4 separate regions of the Homo sapiens genome follow, and regions 2, 3 and 4 are each linked to region 1. Evidence: promoter capture Hi-C in 16 types of primary human blood cells and fetal thymus (Javierre and others, 2016). All regions are on one chromosome and are shown on one strand. Each heading gives the region's core, a stretch centred on a gene start or on the middle of the fragment in contact. The rest is flanking DNA. Distances are from core to core; before and after follow the strand shown.

What was found. Contacts are between HindIII fragments. The CHiCAGO score rates a contact against its expected background, and 5 or more counts as called.
Region 2: a contact is called between a fragment that was not itself captured here and the fragment with the promoter of NFAM1 in region 1, in 13 of 17 cell types (naive CD4 T cells, total CD8 T cells, naive CD8 T cells and 10 more). The highest score is 11.6, in naive CD4 T cells.
Region 3: a fragment that was not itself captured here is called in contact with the fragment with the promoter of NFAM1 in region 1 in 14 of 17 cell types (naive CD8 T cells, naive B cells, total CD8 T cells and 11 more); the score reaches 12.9 in naive CD8 T cells.
Region 4: a contact is called between a fragment that was not itself captured here and the fragment with the promoter of NFAM1 in region 1, in 6 of 17 cell types (naive CD8 T cells, naive B cells, non-activated CD4 T cells and 3 more). The highest score is 7.0, in naive CD8 T cells.

The regions. Positions count from the first base shown.
Region 1 is chr22:42,430,797-42,434,225 of GRCh38, reverse strand. It overlaps NFAM1 (NFAT activating protein with ITAM motif 1), which reads left to right and starts at 1,823. Exons shown (of 6, transcript NM_145912.8): 1 at 1,823-1,989. The coding sequence starts at 1,869. The HindIII fragment of the contact is 8,354 bases long and covers 1,196-3,429 here.
Region 2 is chr22:42,184,597-42,188,025 of GRCh38, reverse strand. All of the region lies in intron 2 of TCF20 (transcription factor 20), which reads left to right. Among named protein-coding and RNA genes, the nearest start is that of CYP2D6, 56 kb to the right of the region's middle. The HindIII fragment of the contact is 1,113 bases long and covers 1,227-2,339 here.
Region 3 is chr22:42,218,385-42,221,813 of GRCh38, reverse strand. All of the region lies in intron 1 of TCF20 (transcription factor 20), which reads left to right. Among named protein-coding and RNA genes, the nearest start is that of TCF20, 51 kb to the left of the region's middle. The HindIII fragment of the contact is 4,351 bases long and covers 1-3,429 here.
Region 4 is chr22:42,241,222-42,244,650 of GRCh38, reverse strand. All of the region lies in intron 1 of TCF20 (transcription factor 20), which reads left to right. Among named protein-coding and RNA genes, the nearest start is that of TCF20, 28 kb to the left of the region's middle. The HindIII fragment of the contact is 5,614 bases long and covers 1-3,429 here.

The DNA.
Region 1 (3,429 bases), core at 574-3,073:
AGAAGGAGAGGGGAGGAAGACAGGCAGCTCAGGCAGGCAAGCGTGGAAACCAGGTGTGCAGCAGGCTAGACCCAGACTCAGAGGCGGCAGAACTCCCGGGAGTCCGAGGTACAGAGTTGGGGTGTGGGGGGCACCGTGACAGGCTGAGAGGTAGGGTCAGTGAGCTGGCACAGGGGCAGGAGCGGAGGCGGCACCAGGGCTGGAAGAGCAGGCTCCCTTGTTCCGAGGCAGTTTGGCATTCAGCTGCCTCCCAGTGCCAAGTCGTAATGAGACTTGTAGAGGCACAGACCGATGCTTTTCCAATGCTCCCCGTGTACCCTGAGGCATTGACACGAGGTCTATCACCATGGCATCAAGGTGCTTAGACAACCTGCTACTCCCAGGAGCCAGGAATAGCGTGAAGCAGCGGGTCTGCATCTCACTGTGACATATGTGAGCATGTATCACTGTGATGGATCAACAGTCAATAACACTGGGGTCCCCGCCTGCCCCCTGCGCGGTAGGAAACTTCTCCTGTTCATATGTCTTCCTCCCCTGGTGGGCGGCCCCTGCTCTTGCCAGCCTCCCAGTGCTCGTGGCATTGGTGGAAACGTCTTTAGGCTTTCACTGTTCATGTTTGGAGCAGCCCAGGGAAAAGCATGTGTGCAAAGAACTGAAATGGATCTCATGATGCCGTCACCGGGGGCTGCAGCTGGACACACCTGAGCAGGCAGTAGCAGGGTGGGAGAAGGCTCGGACATCATACCACTGGCAGTTCAAATGCCCGCCCCACAGACCTGCCCTGATCCTAGGCATGTTGTTTTGCCTCCTGGGGCCGAGGTCTTCTCTTTTGTACAACTGGGATCATCACATTTATCTGGTGAGTGAAGGGACACCTGCAGAGAAGGGAGGTAAGCGCTCAGCATGCGCTGAAACTCAGCCACCTTCCCGCCTGCGTCTTCCATGTACCAGGTGCCTCCAGCTCCACCAGCCATCACCACACCCCAGCCCCTTTCCTCTGCCACTCCAGACACGCAGGCAGATGTGTGGGTGCCAAGGGTGAGGGGCTCCCAGTCTGCTGGGGAAGGGGGTCCCGGCAGCAAACAATTCCTGTCCCCGGCTGATGCTGCTAGAAGTGAGAGCAGGGGCTGTGACCTGCAGCCAATGGGGAAGCAGTTCGAGGGTCTCACAGTTGGGAGGCCGAGTGAGCTAAGCTTTAGGGCAGCCACAGGGAGGAGCTGACGTTAGAGATGGACCAGAGAGGAGGCGTCTCCTGGGCCTCTGCAGGGGACCCACAGAGGTTCTCGCTGGGTGAATGATGGGCAGCCTGCCTTTCACCTGCCCTGGGTGTTTGGCCCTCTCTAGGGCTGGGAACATGAGGCTCCTGCCCTTCACCCCAGCCTCCCTACCACCCCTCACCAAAAAACCTACCTTTGGTAAACACATTATTAAGGGATTCTCAGAATATTTTAGAGAAGTTTGTGTGAACATGCTTGTGGTCGTTTTAAAAGTGTTTCAGAAGTGAGAGGCTAAACCAAGGCCCGAAGTCACTCATGGAAATCCCATGATCCCTCTGCACAGTTACCAGTGTCTCCTGGACGGGGCCCCTGCTGGAAAGGGGCCGAGACAGGGTGAAGCCCACCAGGGGTTGGAGTGGGGAGGCTTGGGTCCCGTCTCCAGCTCTTCTTCTGGTTGTGTGGCCTGGACCAGTCTCAGTGCCAGGTTCCTCATCTGGCGGCCACCCTGCTGGGCTGTTCCAGCTTTGCTTCTGAGCGGAAGGTCAGGGGCTGCCAGGGAGGAGCTTCGTGGGGAAAGCAAAGGGGAAGCTGTCAGCGCCGGCCGTCCCCTCCTGTGAACTAAAGAGTCGCCGCAGACAAGCAGGCCCCCAGATGGAGAACCAGCCTGTGAGGTGGCGGGCCCTGCCAGGCCTCCCACGCCCTCCTGGGCTCCCCGCAGCCCCCTGGCTCCTCCTTGGCGTGCTGCTGCTGCCCGGGACCCTGCGACTGGCAGGTAGTGTCTGTCTTCCTCCTTCTCTCTACTCTCTCGCTCCAGAACATCAGAGCGGCTTTCATCCCGCCCGGCGCAGCTAATTCCCAGGGACCTGTCTCTGGGGATTTGCTGGTTGTCGTTTGAACGCTGCAGACTTCACAGGGGAAGCCTTCTGGGACCGAGAAGATGTTTAGCTAATGCCTTGCCAAGGTGGCTTTTGAAGGGGAGGGGGACAGCGCTCTCTCCCTCGCTGCTGTGACAGCTTTGCCCCAGCAGTCTGGCCTCCTGGCCCTTAAACAAGGAGGGTGGGCGCTGTGTGGCTGGGGCCAGGGGCGGGGCAGGGGGGAGGGACAGCTCCCCATCCGAGGAACCTCACGTGGCTGCTGCGGGGGACACTGCGTTGAACCTGGCAAGTGGTGGGGCTACCCTCTGGGTTGTTGCTGGCATTGGCCAGGGAGAGCGGGGAGAGGGGGGAGGGGGGGATACCAGGGCCAGCCACAGGGCTCTGCGCCCAGAGGCACAAAACTGTCAGTCACCAGAAAGGGTCTCACCTCCCAGTTCCTGAAACACAACCAGAGGCCAAGTGTTTTAGGATGCAAGTGTGTCTTTCCACGCCAGCGGCGCTCCTTTCCTGGTTCCAGGCTTTCTTGGAAGCTGGGTGGCCGGGATCCGAGCCAAGCTGTGGGGTAGGTAGCCTCAGGGCCAGTTCATCAGGCCAGGGACGGCCCAGGAGGGTCCCATTCCAGGGCTGCCAGCACGAGGGCTCAGTGAATTCTGCCAGATTCTCTCTGCCCCTCCTTGGCCGGGCAGCAGCCAACCCTCCCTCTGGCCAAAGGGGTGGCCTCCACTGTGGAGACAGGGTGCCTTCCTTTCTATTCTCTTAGTTTATGGGGCTTTCAAGAGCTGCCCCCACCCTGTCCTGCTGCACCCCCTCTCATGACCACAAATTAGGCTTTATGGAGCCCTTAGCAGGGCACGTACTGGCCACCCTCACAGCACCCCTTGGGGCTCCTATTGTCCTCACCTGCACCATTTTAAGGACAGGGAAAAGGAGGCCCAGGGAAGCCAGTTCGTTTGCTCAAGACCTAGCCGGTAAGTAGAGGCCAGCCTCAGCCCCAGGCCAGCCTCAGCCCCAAGCTGGGCCCCTCGGCCAGTAGGCTCAGAGGATCCTCTTACTTGTAAAGAATGTTCTTCACCGGAAACTTACCCTGGGGAGGCAAAGGCTGACCTGTGTGTACCTCCCCAGGCTGCAGCCCAGAGCCCTAGGACACCATCTCCTTTAATCCTGTGCACGCCTCGCCCCACACCCCAGACAGTTGGTGCAAACACGGCCAGACCCCGGAAATGCAGCCTGTTAGTGTCAATGTGTCTCAACTACAGTCATTTTTAATTTAATTTCCCCCCAATTCCCATCCTTTCCCTTTGTGTGGTTCCTCCTCCCCAAAAGACACCCAGCACACC
Region 2 (3,429 bases), core at 534-3,033, 250 kb after region 1:
CACCATGCCCGGCCTGAGAATCTGGATTTTTTAAAGCAACAATGGCATAAAAAGAGGTATGTGACAGAATCTTCTGGAGAAAAGACCTCCTTCCCCAGCTGCGTCTTAGACCTACTAACTTCTCATTATTTGTTTGCTCAGTGTTAAAATGAGTAAGTCCATTGTATAAAGCTGTGTGTATTCTGAATATGTTCTTTATCTGCTCAAGATTGTGGCTAATTTCTGACATCCTCTGTTTGGTAGATGAAGTACAGAAAGACAAAGAAGGACATTCTTAATGAAGGAGAAAAGTCCTTTAATCCCAACCTTTCTAACCTGATGGAAAACATCATAACTTTACTATAAACTGCAGACAGGCTGGTCCCACCTTATGGGCACAAAGACATCGGAAGGGAAATAAGGGAACGGGCTTTCTTTGTGGATCAAAACAGAATCCAAGGATGTAGCTGTTAGATGCCGCCAAAACGGCCACACTCAAGAGATTTGGACCTGGGTCAGGCTTTCTGTGCGTTTTGTACCACTTCTGGGGCCAGCTACCACCCAACCACCACTCAGCCACAGAGACACTTATTACAGGTTTATAATTTGACTTGAAAGGTTTTCCCAAAGAAACAAATACTTGTCAGGATCTGTAGCAGAGCCATGTTTTGATTGGGGCTTTTATGGGAGGAGAATGGTGATCTAAATATATAATTTTATTTCAAATTATGCTTGAAAGATGATCAGATTAAAGAAAGTTTGTGTGAGTGTTTTCATGGGCTTGTATTGGAGGGAAGCAGATGACTGGGTCCCAGGAGGCAGAGAAGATGAACTATTGGGCCCTAAGTGTGTTGTAAGGAATAGTACCATCTGTTGGACCTAAGATCCACATGGCAGCAGAGGGTCCAGAATCAGCCACAGCAGATTATTCTAGATTAATGTGAGTAGGGACAGGTTTGGAGAAGTATGGCTAGGAGCACCTGGCAGGTGACTCTGATGCAGGCAGCAAAGGAGTCATTGGTTTCCAGGTCTGCTCTCCACATAACAGAGGGCACTGTCTGTAGAGTACAACAGGCAAGCCTGTGAGGCGGTTTTTCTCATTCTAGTTGTGCTCAATATGCCATTTTGGGGCAGTTTTCAATGCTTTCGAAATCCTGCTAGAATTTAATTTGTATGCAGTTGTGTGTCATTATTAGTCCCCATTTATTTAACATCTTTTCTTGTAATGCAAAATGCTTTAGAAAGCTTTAAAAATAGTTTTAGTTTGTATTGGTCCCAGATAGGAGAATTGAGAGGGGAGATACAATGAAAGTAATAGTAAATAGTAGCTAAGAAGTGAAGTGTCCAGAGACTTGGCCAAGAACTGACCTTCCACACCGTCGGAGATGAAACATTACTGAAACATACAGCAGCTAGACTTACCAAAAAAACGACCAGCAGCAGGTGTCCAGACCCATGCAGGGTCTGCTTGTTTAAGGCAGATTGTAGGAGAGAAATTACTTAACAAAAAATTAACTTTAAACTGTTTGTCTTAATTTAATAGACTGTACTTTGTATTATATCTGATTTTGATATCAGTAATTGCCAAAGTATGACAGAGATGAATGTATGTTTTATGTAATTTTTATTTAAAAGTTCTAATAATTACATAACTTTCTAGTTTGTAAAACACTTTTATGGTTATTTTACACAGCAGCTTTAGGCAGAAGGCAAAGCAAATACTGTTATCCCCATTTTACAGATGATAAAATTGACCTGGTGACTTTTGGCTTTCACACGTGTGCTGACACCCTCAGTTTTTTTCTCCAGTAGCCCTGTGCTGCATCATACCTGGACAGTATGCACATTAGACCAACCACATTTATTCTAAAAAGCTAGTCAAGCCTGGAACTTTTGTCTTAAGTACACACAATTAGCCCTTAGCCAGTGAGTGGCTGGCTGATGTTTCATACTGACATCATAATTGATTAAGTGTGTATTTAATGGATTCAGTTTCTGAAACTGGCACTTTTGCCGGAGCAGCTGTAGGACATAAGTGCAGATTCTAAATCCATGTACCATAACTTGAGTAGCACTGAGTAAATGGACCTGAGAAGAACTGGACAAGTCTCTGTCCCTCTGAGGTTGACTGGGAAGCCTTGGTGGTACTGGGCCGTGGTGCAGGTCCCAGAGGCTGGTGCCAGAGCCCATTCCCTCAGTCTTTGTGTTAATGGCAAGTTAAAGGTTCTCCAGCCAGTCTCATGAGCTTTTCATGAAGAAACGTAAGGAGATCGTCTAGCTCTAAGGAAGTAAGGACCAAAACACCTAGGGCTATGTATGTATTGCTTTGGCTAACACTTTGAAGTAGTCTTTAAGAAGCTTGATAGGATGCAGAGTTGCATCAAAGAAATGCTCACAGGGCCTTGAAGGGTAGCTCCTTGTATGTAGCCCATCTAGCTGCCACGTAGTTGGCATTGATAGCTGGGAGGACAGCGGCTTCCATCCTAGATGTAGGAGGCATAATTAAAAGGACAAAAAACTTTTTGCTGGTGGCCAAAAATGAACACATACCTTGTTCCACATTCTCCAAGCTCCACCAGCATCAGTTTTGTAACTCATTGAAGAGTATCCTCATTAGTTGTCTTCAGGCTCTCAAGTTTGTCAGACATTGCATTCATTCCATCAGCCCACATTTACAGTGCCTATGGTGTGCCAGTCCTTGGGGGGTGCAAGAACAAGTCTCACAGTTTAGGGGAGATGGACAAACATGAGTAAGTAAATATTGTGAGCATGAGCAGAAGTGTGTGCCATGCTGGATAAGAGCCGTCTTAGGCACAGTAGTGGAGGGTAATCTGCAAGGCTTGAACAAAACCAGTTGTCATCAGTGTGCTATAATACTACTGTGACCCAGTTGCTTTGGTGTTCTGAGGCTGCTCTGAGATGCTAATTAAACAGGATGATGATTCAGGTTGCTGTTATATCTCATAAGAAAGAGCCTTTCTGTGAATGAGCAGGCATCAGGCTTGGAGAAGGCTCCCTTAAAGCTTCCCTCAGATAAGGATTAAACAACGCTAGTTGACTCAGTCCTTGCAGTTTGCTACCTCAAGTCAGCGAGCCCTGCCTCTGAGACAGTGACAAAGTCTGGTGAAAGGTTCAAGCTCTGTATCTGGGCCACTTTCCGTTAAAACATGTCCCAAAACTAATAATACCTTTTATAATTTATTTCCCAAGTTTAGAGTATCAAAAAATGTGAGGTTCTTATTAGAGTTCTTTAAAAATAGTTTTTATTCCCTTCCATAATAAAAAATTTACTATTAAAAGATTTTGAAGTTTGGGCCATTCCTTATTTTTAAAATGTGTCTTAATTTAGAAATCATGCTTGGAGCCCCCAATGTGTCTCATTCTTCCTGGGGAGCAGTATTGTATGGACTTACCTCTGCTTGGAGTGAATGTAGTAACACTGTGGTCAAA
Region 3 (3,429 bases), core at 461-2,960, 210 kb after region 1:
TGAGCCGAGATATCGCCACTGCACTCCAGCCTGGGCAACAGAACGAGACTCCGTCTCAAAAAAAAAAAAAAAAACCCTTTGCCATATGGTTAATAAGCCCTATAGACCCCACATCCTTGGCATTCAGAGCCCAGCACCTGCCTGCAACTCTCTTCATAGTATCTCATCCAATTTTGGACTTTGGGCATTTCTTACTTTCTTGCAACTTGGCTATACATTTTGTCTGACATTTCTAAGTGTTTTGTTGAGGGAGGATTTTTAGTCCCTGTTCTATGTCATAGTGCATGAAATAGAAGTCTCTCATTCCCCAAGTGGCAATAGTCTACTCTGAAATCCTAGGAATGAGAAGAACTCTTATCAGTCAGGGTCCCAGTAGAAAACAGATGGCACATTCAAACTGGGTAATTTAAGGAGTGTTTAATTGTATCATTCAGGGTTCATTCAGGAAAAGAGAAGTTGTCTATTCCGGTATGAATGGTTTTGATACAGGAATTAAGGCTTTACCCAACCCTGGAAGAACTGGAATTGGGAAGGTTCCTGATGATTTCATACTGAAGTGTCATAGTGAATGGTTCTCGTGAGCTCATGGGGAAGCCGCTATGAATCCACGTGTGCTGCATCTACCTCCAGGGAATATCATCAACCTCTACGTTTATTTTGCCTTCTAAATCTCTCTTGCACTTCTCATTGCAAACTCTAACCCAGAACCATGCTGCTAAAGGGTTCTGGAACGGAAGTTCTCAGCTTCTGATCTGCAGAGGAGAGCTTGGAAGGAGGGTGGTCACGATGCTGAGTTGACAACAATGCAGAAGATTAATAAAGGGACTGGAAAGGGTGAGCAGGGTTTGGGGAAGCCAACAGGAAAGTGAAGTCTTCTGTGCTAGCAGTAGCAGGGAGTTGTTACCTACTGCCTTCTAGACCTGAAGGGCAGAGGATGAAGTGGTTCCTGGAGTTTGGAGAAAGTGGCTATATGTTGAGGTTGCCCGATGGAGCTGCAGCCATTGGTGGAGGGTCTCAGCCAGCCTCAGTAACCTCGGGGTGGGAGCCAGGAGAGTAAGTTCCTCTCACTTTCCTCCTCTCCTGCCTCTTACCAGCCAAACTGGGTCAGAAGGCAAGGGTGGTGGGGCCTGTCAGTTGTCCTTCCATTGTCCGTTCTAGGGCATAGAGTAGGGTGGAGATGGGTGAGGAGAGGCTGTGGGGGCAAACAGGGAATATCCCTTACACAGGCTATAACTAGATGCATCATTGTCAATGTCTTGAGGATTTAAAGGCAAAGAAGGAGAATAAGCAGAAAATCATGACAGAGGATGAAAAAATTAGCTGGGGCCAGGCACAATGGCTGAATTCTAGCACTTTGGGAGGTTGAAACAGCAGGATGGCTTGAGCCCAGGAGTTTGAGACCAGCCTGGACAGCACAGTGAGACTCTGTCTCTATTTTTAAGAAATTATAAAAATTAGCCATAGTCCCAATTATTTTTTAAAAATTAGCCAGGGGTCCCATGCCTGTGGTCCCAGCTACTTGGGAGGCTGAGGCAGGAGGATTGCCTGAGCTGGGAGTTGAGGCCGCAGTGAGCCTGTGGTCATGCCACTGCACTCCAGCCTGGGCAACAGAGTGAGACTCTCTTTCCAAAAAAGAGAATGGATTGGGAAGTGGGATGTTGTTGGACATATGGAGGAAGAAGGACAGAGAAAGCCAATGTTGGTTTTCTATAAGAGGGCAAGGTCATCAGCCCTCTAATAGGATGGGGAGAACAAGTCTGCAGCTGGTTATGAGTGAGTTTGTGAGGTCGGCACATGGACTCTGGAATGTTTAGGCACAGAGTTCTGGACCTCACTAATACACCTCCACAGCCCTTCTGAAACTGTTCAGAAAGTTAGGAATATAGGAGAAAAACAGGAAAGGGAGAGTCATTATGGATGGGAAGTACATCGGTAGGCCTCTTTTTTATTTATTTATTGAGACGGAATCTCGCTTTGTTGCCCAGGCTGGAGGGCAGTGGCGCGATCTCTGCTCACTGCAACCTCTGCCTCCGAGGCTCAGGCGATCCTCCTGCCTCAGCCCCCCGAGGTGCTGGGACTACAGGCACGCATCACCATGCCTGGCTAATTTTTGTATTTTTTATAAAGATAGGGTTTCGCCATGTTGCCCAGGCTGGTCTCGAACTCCTGAGCCCAAGTGATCTGCCCGCCTTGACCTCCCAAAGTTCAGGGATTACAGGGGTGAGCCACTGTGCCCAGCCTCTTTTTTAGAGTGTGTATGCAAGTTCCTTAGGTGACTTATTCCTTTGAGGTATCAGATTTTCCTTACTATTTGTATTCATTTAAACAAAGGAATTCAGGCACTTATTATTACTAATCACAGTGCTTTAAAACTGACTACACTGATGCTTTTTTTAAGATGATGGGATAAAATTGGAATTATCTCTATTAGCTTTTTTTTTTTTTTTTTTTTTTTTTTGAGACAGGGTTACTGTCACCCAGGGTGGAGCACATTGGCACATTCATAGCTCGTTGCAGCCTCGAACTCCTGAGTTCAAGCAATCGTCCTACCTCAGCCTCTTGAGCAGCTGGGACTGTAGGCACACCTCATGACACTGTGCATTTAAAATTTTTTTTAACCCAGGCTGGTCTTGAACTCCTGACCTCAAGCGATCCTCACACCTCAGCCTCCCAAAACACTGGGATTACAGGTGTGAGCCACCACACCCAGCCTATTACTTATTTTATAGCTCCAGGTTTACATTTTCTGTCGTTGGTATATGCTAGTTGGTTTTCTTAATTGGTTTACTTGGCATTCCTAAAAAAGATAAACCTGGGCAACCACCTTCTCCTACTCAGGTGCTTCATGTATACTAAGAATATTTAGCATGACTGGAACCCTGCAGGAGGTATTTGGCCTTGGATTTTTTTTTTTTCTTTTTCATAAAGTAGAACCATAACAATAGGGAAAGGGGTATCATACAGGACAGGGAATCTGCAGGGGAAGGCTGAGAACAGACCTAAGAAGGAGTCCTTCCTGTATCTGTTTTCCCTGTCTGGAGATAGGGCAGCCTCAGGCCTGATACCCTGATGTTTAAAGTGGCCTTTAGCTCTTGGTGGCTCCTATTTAGGAAGAATATGGAGCAAGTGGCAACATTGTTTATACACTCAGATCTTCAGAAGCCTGATTTTATTTCCAGAAGGATTAATTAAACAACATGTAACATAGCTTTTTATAGAGAATATCTCTTGAGAAGGCTTTTCATTAGTTTAAACTGCTAGCTTTAATGTTTTTGTTCAATTTAGCCCCCATTCAGCCTTGTTTTATCTAGAGAAGGCCACTGGCACTGAGGAGTAGAGCAGGAGCACATCACAAGGGGAAAAAATTAATACTCATGTAGACAGAATTGCTCTTGATAGTTCTAAGAATGATGGGGAGCGGGTGAAGAG
Region 4 (3,429 bases), core at 498-2,997, 190 kb after region 1:
TACTCCCCTTGCCCTCTTCTGCCAGTCCTTTGCAACCACCGATCTGCTTTCTGTTTTTAGATTTACTTCTTTTGGATATTTCATTAGATGGAATCGTACAATATGTGACCTTTCATGTCTGACTTCTTTCACTTAGCGCGTAGTGTTTTGAGATTTATCTACATTGTATTGTGTATGAGTACTTCATTCCTTTTCATGGCTGAATACATACTCAGTTTTATGTATATACCACAATCTGTTCATCCGTTCATCTGTTGATGGACATTTCGGTTGTTTCCACCTTTTGGCTATTTTGAATAGTGCTGCTATGAACATGTGTGTATATCTATTTGTTTGGATACCTGTTTTCACTTATTTTGAGTATATACCTAGGAATGGAGTTGCTGGATCGTGTAATTCTGTATTCAACTTTTTGAAGAACCACCAGACTTTTTCACAGTGGCTGAATATTTTATATTCCCATGTGTGGCCCAGGCTGGAGGGCAGTGGCATGATCGTGGATCACTACAGGCTTCACTCACTGGGCTCGAGTGATTCTCTTGCTTCAGCCTCCCAAATAGCTGGGATTACAGGTATGTGCCACCATACCTGTCTAATTTTTGTATTTTTATAGACAGGGTCTCACCATGGTTGGCCAGGCTGGTCTCCTAACTCCTGGCTTCAAGTGATCCAGTGTGCCTGGCCCCCACCAGCAATATGTGAGGGTTCCAGTCTCTCCACATCATCACCAACACTTGTAATTTTTTGTTTTCTTTCCTATAGCCATACCTATGGGTATGAAGTGCTGTGTCATTGTGGTTCATTTTTCCTGATACATTAACTTTTTAAGAGAAATGTTAGTAGACTTTATTGCTTAGAGCAGTTTTAGGTTTACAGAAAAAATGAGCAATAAGAGAGTTCCTGTTTACCCTCCCTCAATCCAACCATAGGTTCCACTATTACTAATATCTCATATTAGTGTGGTGCATTTGCTACACTTGATATACAGTATTGATATTTTATTATTAACTCAAGTCCAGTTCATATTTGACCTTTTTTTGTTTGTTTTTGAGAGGGAGTCTTGCTCTGTTGCCCAGGCTGGAGTGCAGTGGTGTGATCTCAGCTCACTGCAACCTCCACCTCCAGGGTTCAAGCGATTCTCCTGCCTCAGCCTTCTGAGTAGCTGGGATTACAGGCACCCACCACCATGCCTGCTAATTTTTATATTTTTAGTAGAGACAGGGTTTCACCGTGTTGGCCAGGCTGGTCTCAAATTTCTGACGTCAAGTGATCAGTCCACCTCAGCCTCCCAAAGTGCTGGGATTACAGGCGTGAGCCATCATGCCTGACTTTTTTTTTTTTTTTTTTTTTTTTTTTTTGAGACAGTGTCTTGCTCTGCCAGCCAGTGCAGTGGTACAATCATAGCTCGCAGTAACCTTGAGCTGCTGGATTCAGGTGAGATTACAGGTGCTAGCCACAGCAACTGACTTGAGTTCATTCTTTGTTGTATATTCTGTGGGTTTGGACAAATGCATAATGTCTTACATCTGCTAATACAGTATTATACAGAATTGTTTCACTATCCCAGGAGTCACCTGTACTCTCTCCGTATTCATCCTTCCCCCTCTTCCCTTGGATCCTTGGTAATCATTGATCTTCCTACTGACTTTACAGTTTGGTGTTTTCCAGAATATTATATAGCTAAAGTCATGTAGCCACTTCAGATTCATGTCTTTCACTTAGCAATAATCATTTAAGGTTCCTGCATGTCTTTTTTCTTTTTTTGAGACAGAGTCTTGCTCTGTCACCCAAGCTGAAGTGCAGTGGTGCGATCTCCACTCACTGCAACCTCTGCCTCCTGGGTTCAAGTGATTCTCCTGCCTCAGTCTCCCGTGTAGCTGGGATTACAGGTGCCCACCACCACCCTTGGCCAAGTTTTGTATTTTTAGTAGAGATGGGGTTTCACCATGTTGGCCAGGCTGGTCTTGAACTCCTGACCTCAGGTGATCCGCGTGCCTCAGCCTCCCAAAGTGCTGGGATTATAGGTGTGAGCCACCTCGCCTGGCCGGGTAGAGAGATCTTCACAGTTGAAAATACCTCTTCTAAATCCTTGACTTTGAGCTCCTCACGTGCTGAGAGTGTTGTAAGTTCGTCTATATAGTATACCCTATGATAACCCCTAATATGACCACAATAGATATTTAATTGTGGTGGTACTATACTTACAGAACAGGTTCATGTTATTTTTGGAAGACATTCTAGATAATAGAGACCATCTGTTTTGTATTCACCAAGATTCTTGATTCTTTGGTGATATCTCTTATTTGTTCTGGAAAATTCCCAATACTTCTCCTCACTTACTGCCTTGCCTCCATTCCCTTCTCATTCTAAGAGTCCACCCATACAGGGATACATTCAACCTTGTAGTCACCCTTTCTTTTCTGTTTTTTTTTTTTTTTTTTTTTTTTTGAGGCGAAGTCTCGCTCTGTCGCCCAGGCTGGAGTGCGGTGGTGCGATTTCGGCTCACTGCAACCTCCGCCTCCTGGGTTCAAGTGATTCTTCTGCCTCGGCCTCCCGAGTAGCTGGGACTTACAGGCACTTATTACCACGCCTGGCTAATTTTTTGTATTTTTAGTAGACACGGGGTTTCACTGTGTTAGCCAGGATGGTCTCGATCTCCTGACTTCCTGATCTGCCCGCCTAAGCCTCCTAAAGTGCTGGGATTAAATGGCATCCATTACAAGTGTTTTTTTTCTTTTCTATTTTTCATTCTGGGTAGATTACTTTGACCTGTTTTCAGTTAATCAGTCTTCTCTTTGACTAATCTGCGTTTTTTTGAGACAAGAGTCTCACTCTTTCGCCCAGGCTGGGGTGCAGTGCAGTGGCACGATCTTGGCTCTCACTGCACCCTCTGCCTCCTGGGTTCAAGCAGTTCTTGTGCCTTAACCTCTCGAGTAGCTGGGACCACAGGTGTGTGCCCCTACACCTGGCCAATTTTTGTACTTTTAGTAGAGATGGAGTTTCACCATGATGGCCAAGCTGGTCTTCAACTCCTGGCCTCAAGTGAGCCACCTGCCCCAGCCTCCCAAAGTGCTGGAATTACAAGTATGAGCCACCGCGCCAGCCGATTAATCTGCTTTTAATTTAATAACTCAATGGATAGTTCTTACCAATATCTTACTGTATTTTTCAGTTGTGATTCTTTTCAAGTCTGCTACATTGTTTTTTATGGATTCCTGTTCCCTGCTAAATTTTTCAAACTTCGCTTTTATTTCCTAGAACATACTAAATATAATTCTTTTATAGTCTCCTGATATCTCCAGTATTTGGAGTTCCTTTGGATCTATAACTGCCTCTCATGGTTCTTACTCATGGTACTTTGTTCATATGTTTGTGTGCTGGACATGGTATTTGAAAAATTGTTTATAGAAATAATTAGAGGCTTTGGGT